Linked DNA regions of Homo sapiens: region 1 is linked to region 2. Evidence: promoter capture Hi-C in human tissues and cell types (Jung and others, 2019). All regions are on one chromosome and are shown on one strand. The core of a region is centred on a gene start or on the middle of the fragment in contact, and the rest is flanking DNA. Distances in the headings are between cores, read along the strand shown.

Region 1 (3,707 bases), core at 713-3,212, 720 kb after region 2:
GTAATTTAAGCAAGTGAAGAAAAAACTGAATTGCTTTCACTTCTAAAATGTCTCCTGACTCAGTGTTCTCCGTAAATTGCGTAAAAGATTCCTTTCTAATACCACGACACTAGCTAAAATTTAATCTCACCCACCTTCCCATATACTCTCAAGAACCCGCACTGGATGTCAGTTTTCCTGTCTCACTAGCAGTACTGTTCAATTCATTTACCAAAAAATGCCTCCGCATTTTCCTGAAGTCTGCCGGTATGGGTTCTGCCACCCGCTGGGCATGCGGCCTTGGGTAAATCGCTTCACTCTGAGCCTGTTTCCTACAGTGCTGTCATGGTGATGCCTGCCTCATGGGGGAATTAAACAGATGGGTCAGTTCGGGCATGAGAAACACTTGAGACAGTGCATGGCACCAAAATTCATGTAACTTTTATGATAAAATATAAAACAAAAAGTAACTATGAAGAAAACTTGGCCAGGCGCGGTGGCTCATGCCTGTAATCCCAGCACGTTGGGAGGCTGAGGCGGGCGGATCACCTGAGGTCAGGAGTTTGAGACCAGCCTGGCCAACTTGGTGAAACCCGTCTCTACTAAAAATATAAACATCAGCCAGGCATGGTGGAGCGTGCCTGTAGTTCCAGCTACTTGGGAGGCTGAAGCAGGAGAATTACTTGAACCTGGGAGGCAGAGGTTACAGCGAGCCCAGATGGCACCACTGCACTCCAGCCTGGGCGACAGAGACAGACTCCCTCTCGGGACAAAACAAAAAACAAACAAAAAAAAAACTCAAAACTTAAAACCTCAAATATAGAATGTAATACTAACAGAAGTCTAATGATTAAAAACACTAATCCTATCTTAGAAAAAAAAATTGTTCTGGTTCTTGGTTGTCATGATAGTAAACAACTACAGATAACCCAAACGCCCCTTGGCTAAATGAGAGTCCCTCTACCCGATGAGTATTCTGCAGCTACTGGAAATCATGGCGTGCTGTGATTGAAAGGGCATTCTGTTATATAACACTGTCAACAGAATAGAACAGGATTCAGAAGCATATAGAAAAGTACGATCTTGTGTTTACAAGATACTTAACATGTTATGTGCACACAGACAAAAGTGAGGAAGTGTTAGGCTCTTTGAGGGGCAGGGCATGGAAGACTCCCTCAGGTGTGGTGGCTCCTGCTGGACACACGCCAGCAGGCTGGAGCCGGGGCCTTCTCGTTAATTCCTCTATGGCTGGGTCTCTCCCAGGCTTGCTTCCTCATCTGTAAGATTCTGGCTGTGTCGTGGCTGCTCACCATGACCTTTCAGCTTCTTTTCCACGCTAACTCGATAATCCTTGTATTTCCTAGGTTACGCTCCCAAGAATGGAAATTTCATTGGCCCAGTTCATCTTTTCTTGCGAGATGTGTTATAGATTACTGGCCAAGATATAGATTTGCTTGACAAGGGCAAGGAGGGGCAGGTACAGCTGCCAGATAACCTCTGAAAATTTCTGTAGAACCAGTGGAGAAATGAGACAAAAGAAGGCTTTCTGTTGAGCTGTAACTCCCTCTGGCATGGGGAACCTGTTATTAAACATAACACAGAACATAAATACCTGAATAGCTTATTTGTATACAAATTATCATTACAAAAGGATCACAAAGTAACATTTAGTAGTCCTACAAAACATTAAACATGTAACAGAGAGAAACTAAAAACTGAAGTATTCCAAACAATCAACAGTCAAACAAGAATAAATCTAAAATTCTAATGAAAGAAAGGCACATCTCTGACCAGGTACAGTGGCTCACACCTGTAATCCCAGCACTGTAGGAGGCTGAGGCGGGTGGATCACCTGAGTTCAGGAGTTCGAGACCAGCCTGACCAATATGATGAAACCCTGTCTCTACTACAATTACAAAAATTAGCTGGGCGTGGTGGCATGCGCCTGTAATCCCAGCTACTTGGGAGGCTGAGACAGGGCAATGGCTTGAACCCAGGAGGTGGAGGTTGCAGTGAGCTGAGATCCCGCCATTGCACTCGAGCCTGGACAAGAGTGAAACTCCGTCTCAAAAAAAAAAAAAAAGGCACATTTCTGTGGCTGGATTTTCATTTCCATTTTACTCAACAGAAAGCTAAAATACTGAGCAACTGACAGTCCTAGGGTGACATAACCACATCCCAACAATTAGAGAGCGGTGGCACAAAGAAGGGGATTGATTACTGGTATAAAACATGGCGCAGAGTTTGGAAACAGGCTGAGAAAGGGGGCCCTACAACTGACCTCTTCAATACAACACCAAATGAAGGAACTGAGATTAATTTAACTTCTTCTTGTTACAATCGCTATATATTCTTTGTGAAAAAAGTTTTTTTTTAAAACGCCCTTCCTTTCTCACCATGCTCTTAAGCTTCTCTGTTTGACAGGTCTTATCCTCTCTCCTTCCAGCAGAATGAAGTTTTTTTAAGTCTCAGCCTCTCCCTCTCCGGTCAGAGTAACTCAAATCCCTTCTCCGAAGTCATCTTTGACCCCTTCAAATCACCAACTCAAAGGCTCTTTTCCGTTGTCATTTTCCTAATACTTCTCTGCATCATTCAGCAATGCAGACCTTGTCGCTGCGGAGTCTGTCCTGTGACCATGAGTGGTACCACCGTATGAGGGCTCAATGACACCTACCATGGGGCTGCCTGGCCTGCCAGGAGCCCCATTCCTCCGGCTTACATGATGTAGGGTAATCCGCAGTGCTGAAGGCACTGTTATTCCATCATTCGCAGCCAAAAATATCCTAAGCGACGCAACCTTCATCACATGCTCCCACCCTGGGGGTCATCCAGTCCCACCTACTCTTTCTTCAATAGCACCAGTGAGAAATGTCCTTTCCTGTTACCACTACCATCAGCGGTTCATGCCCCTTCCGCTCTAATACAGGCCCACCTCGTTGTACTGTGTTTCCCTTTACTGAACGTGCAGATATTGCATTTCTTACAAACTGAAGATTTCGTGCCGACCCTGCGAGTAGCAAGTCTATCAGGGCCATTTTTCCAACAGTATGTGCTCACTTCATGTCTCTGTGTTGCATTTTGGTAATTCTCACAATATTTCAAACATTTTCATGATTATTATTAAATCTGTTATGTTGATCTGTGACTAGTGATCTTGGATATTACAACTGTAAATGTTTTGGGGCACCAAGGATTGTGCCCACATAAAACAGCAAACTCAATTGATAAATGCGTGTGTTCTGTCTGCTCCACAGACTGGCCAGTTCCCTGTCTCCCTCTCCTTGGGCTTCCCTATTCCCAGAAGCACATTTAAACCAGGCCAATTAATAATCCTACAATGGCCTTTAAGTGTTCAAGTGTAAGGAAGAGCACCATGTCTCTCACTTTAAATCAAAAGCTAGAAATGATTAAGCTTCATGAAGAAGGCGTGCTGAAAGCTGAAACAGGCCAAAAGCTAGGCCTCTTGAGCCAGTTAGCCAAGTTGTGAATGCAAAGGAAAAGTTATTGAAGGAAATAAAAAGCACTGCTCCAGTGAACACAGTAATGAGAAGGCAAAACAGCCTTATTACTGATAAGGAGAAAGTCTGAGTGGCCTGGAGAACAGATCAAAGCAGCCACAACATTCCCTGAAGCCAAAGCCTAATCCAGAGCAAGGCCCTTACGCTTCAATTCTACGAAGGCTTAGAAAGGTGAGGAAACTGCAGAAGAAAAGTTGGAGGCTAGCAGAG
Region 2 (4,078 bases), core at 553-3,052:
TTGTCAGAAACACGTCTGTGGATCACACATTCAAGCTTGTGCACAGGGCTGGGTTAAGATCCTCGACACGCCCCTGTAAACATCCTCTGGGCTCCACTCTGTACCACAATGGCATTCAGATCCAAATTAAAGCATGCAAGGGAAGCACTTGGAAAATCCTAAAACACTAGCTACCTGCTAGATATTATAAATATTAAATATCAATTCTAGAGTATGCAGCCTAGCATTTGCTTCAAAATTATGGAGGGAGGGAATAAATGAAGTGAGACAGGTCAGAAGTTGGTAATTATTGAACTTAGATGATGTATATAATCGCTAATTATACCATTTGCTCTCCGTTTGCATATGTTTGAAATTCCCTACCATAAAAAGTTTAAAAATAATGAAATCTAAGTGGAGTCTTGGAAATTTGAATTATAACCCTCTTCATTTCGCAGGTAAAACAAACACATCCAGAGAGGTTAAGTGACCTTCCTGAAGTCACACAGCTAGCTGCAGAGCCAGGAGTCAAAATTCTGAACTGGCAGCTCCGGGCCCTTTGTGTGGCCTCATACCAGGGTCCTCAGGCAGAAATAGGTTCCTGTGGCCACCCTCCCTAATATTCCCAAGTTCTTTCAGTTCCCAGGGGTGTCTGGGAGCCCGCTAGGAGGAGGGAGGGTGCTGACAAAACTGAAGCTGGAAGGCTAGAGCTCCGGGGGAGCCAGGAGGCCCTGGGCACGGGCCAAACGTAACAGGGCGGGGCGGAGGGGGTTCTCGCCTGCTTTCTGGATCACTGACACCTGGAGCAAGCCTGCCCAGGGAACCCGACCTTGGCCATGACATAGGCTTATTCTGCCCTCACTCTGCCCCCAATCTTTCCAGCCCATCTCCCTACTGCTGAAAGATCAGGGGTCCAGGAGGGATTCCTGGGATTCTGGGCTTTGGGAAAGTGGACTGGGGGCAAATGTTAACCACCAGGGGCACTGGGGGCGGAGAGGGGGACCCTAGAAAGAGGAACTGAGTGTTTGCAGCCGCCCCTCAGTAAGATCCAGGGGCGGGGGCAGGGAAGGGAGCAGCCGCGATCCCCCTAAGCCAGGGTAGGAAACAGGTCGAAGGTCCCCTGGCCTTTGGAAGCAGAGACTTCTTACTCCCAAAGTCCTTCGACTCTGACCGCTGGAAAGACTTGGGAGCTGCTGAGTGCGCCCGGAGGACCCCGCCGCGCTGGGGCTGTGCGTGCAGCAAACCCAAGCCGCTGGCCAGGCTTGCGAGAAAGACCTCCACGCGTGGGGGGACCGTGGCGCCCTAGGTCCTCTGTCACATTCCGGGCCCTGTCACATTAGGCTGGGTTCGGAGACGTGACTGCATCTGGCCCCCCAGTCGCCCCGGCCCAGACCACCCATCCAGAATCCCCGGACTCGCCCTTCTCTCCACTCTGTCCACAGGCTGCCCATCTGGGGACCCCAGAATCTCGCCCCCTTCTCCGTCGGGCTCCCCAGGGCCTCCCTCCCCCTCGTCTGCACGCAAAGCTCCCTTAGGTCCCTTTAAGGAACAACTGGCCCCTGGTCTCTATTTCCCCCATACGATAAAGGGCACCGGGTGTTCCCGCCCGAGGGTGCGGACTCCTCGACCCTGAACTGCCACCCCCAGAAGGCCTTGAGCCCTGCGGCTCCAGGAAGACGGGTCCGTGCGCCTCCGCGTAGACTCGGCTCTCGGTCCTACGCCTGCCGCGCGCCCGCAGCCCGCCTGGCCCCGGGAAGCCTCACCATCGCTGCCGCTGTCCTCGCCCGCGCACCTCTCAGCTGGGCCTGCCCGCCCCGACTGCTCCAGATACAGCCGCCTCCGCCGTTGTGACACACCGGGAGGGGGGGACGCCGGGGACAGGCGCGCCGGGCCCGCAGCTGCCCCCCGGCATCACAGTGCCGGGGAGGGGCGGGCAGGTCACAAAGGCCCCTCCCCGCCCACCCGCGGCTCAAATCTCCGGGTCCTCGGTCCCGCCTCAGCAGCCGGGGGCGCTCGCAGCGGGGACTGCGCCCGCGGGGGAGGCTGCCCTATTACCAAAGCGCACGTGTCCACGTTCCAACACCGCCGGCGAGAGCAGCCTTCGTGACCCCAGCTGCCGGAGAAAGAAATGTAAAATGCAGCCAGGCGAATCGCGCGGGTCTCCCCAAACTTCCGTTCTCCTCCGACCCGCTGGAAAGGCTCCTGACTGGGGTGCAGCTGACCGGAGCGGGCTGCAGCGGGCCCGGGTGCCAAGGTGCCGTCTCAGCTGGGCGCCCTAGGGCCGTGTGTGCTTGGCAAGCTGCAGGGCCTCTGCTCCCAAAGCCTGTGCCTCCTGCCGCCAAGGCCCGCCTGGTTGCTGGAGACGGAAATGAGATGGCATACACAGAGCTCCTGGTACAGGCAGGTGCTGAAGACTGTTCCCGTTTTTACCCTCTCCCCGGATACCTCGCACCTCCACCGGGATTTTCAAATCTCCCCCCTTGATCCCTTCCTACTTTTAAGCCCCAAACGTGTCCAAGTCACATCTCCTATGTAATCCAGAACTCATACCAGGGTTCCCCTGCCTCTGCCCAGTAGTAAGACCCGCCAGATGCTGTTGGTTGCCCCCTGCTCGGGAAGGGGTGGGCACTTGGTAAAAGCCCCTCTTCACACTTTAGATGTTGGCCACGTTGTCACCCTGCCCATCTCCCCTCACTTCCCCCCAGGTGGGTGAGGGGCTGGATGGTCTTTGTTCCTTGTTCTCACTGCTGTTTCTTGTTCTTTCCCTCCAGTGGTCAGTTCCATTCATGTTGAAAGGTGTACCCCAGCCTCTCTCTTCCACTTTCCTCAGCACCAAGCCAACGCAGGCAAATTCATAGGTTTTCCTTAAGACAATACCACTTTAGCCAGACGTGGTAACTCCCCAAGTTTCCAAGCACAGTTAGAGATCTTCCTACCCTTCTGCTCCTAAGACATGCCTGCTTGTGGCCAATAGAGAATGAGAGCAGATTTCTGCTTACCTATGCGGCAATCTGTTCTGTTGGCCACCCATTCATAAACGATAGTACATGTGTCGTAATCATCTTTGCATTTGAGAGAGTACCAAACACAGTGCTTTACCCACTGATACAAACGGTACTTAGTAAAGCATGCGTTGAATTTTTGTCTATCTTATAATGTAAGATCCTGACAATTAAGACTCAGGATTAAGCTAATTGTGCCAAGCACATGATAAATGGTCAATAAAGGATTTTGGTTATTAGTATAACTCTATGTGTATTTCTCTTCCAAACTCTCCCATAGCATATTCTATTACTTCTTCCATAGCATTTCTTTTATTTTTTATTTTTTTTGATGGAGTCTTGCTCTGTCGCCCAGGCTGGAGTGCGGTGGTGTGATCTAGGCTCACTGCAACCTCCGCCTCCCGGGTTCAAGTGATTCTCCTGCCTCAGCCTCCCGAGTAGCTGGGACTACAGGCGCGTGCCACCACGCTCGGCTAATTTTTTGTATTTTTAGTAGAGACGGGGTTTCACCGTGTTACCCAGGATGGTCTCAATCTCCTGACCTTGTGATCCACCCATCTTGGCCTCCCAAAGTGCTGGGATTACAGGCGTGAGCCATCGCGCCCAGCCCCATAGTATTTATCACTTTCTTTTTCTTTTTTTTTTTTTTTTGAGACAAAGTCTCGCTCTGTTGCCCAGGCTGGAGTGCAGTGGTGCGATCTGAGCTCACTGCAACCTCGCCTCCTGGGTTCAAGCGATTCTCCTGCCTCAGCCTCCTGAGTAGCTGGGATTACAGGCAGGCGCCACCATGCCCGGCTAATATGTATCTTTAGTAGAGACAGGGTTTCACCATGTTGTTCAGGCTGGTCTCGAACTCCTGACCTCGTGATCCACCTGCCTCGGCCTCCCAAAGTGCTGGAATTACAGGCGTGAGTCACCGTGCCCAGCCGTATTTATCACTTTCTAGTTTGGAGTATAGGGGTGTGTGTGTGTGTGTGTGTGTGTGTGTGTGTGTGTGTCTAAACACTCTACAAAACAGCAACACCTTAAAGGAAGGGGTTGTGTTATTCATCTTAGTGCCCTCCCTACCAAAAATAGCTAGTTGAGTGCATCAGGTG

Evidence for each region. The method cuts DNA at HindIII sites, captures the fragments that hold promoters and counts their contacts. A contact is called where the count stands out against the background at its distance.
Region 1: a contact is called between a fragment that was not itself captured here and the fragment with the promoter of TUBA8 in region 2, in 1 of the 25 tissues and cell types used here (spleen).

The regions. Positions count from the first base shown.
Region 1 is chr22:17,385,011-17,388,717 of GRCh38, reverse strand. The region is part of intron 1 of CECR2 (CECR2 histone acetyl-lysine reader); the gene reads right to left. Among named protein-coding and RNA genes, the nearest start is that of CECR2, 17 kb to the right of the region's middle. The HindIII fragment of the contact is 3,728 bases long and covers 99-3,707 here.
Region 2 is chr22:18,108,533-18,112,610 of GRCh38, reverse strand. It overlaps TUBA8 (tubulin alpha 8), which reads right to left and starts at 1,802. Exons shown (of 5, transcript NM_018943.3): 1 at 1,743-1,802. The coding sequence starts at 1,745. RefSeq lists a silencer at 1,636-2,025 and an enhancer at 2,106-2,305. The HindIII fragment of the contact is 17,974 bases long and covers 1-4,078 here.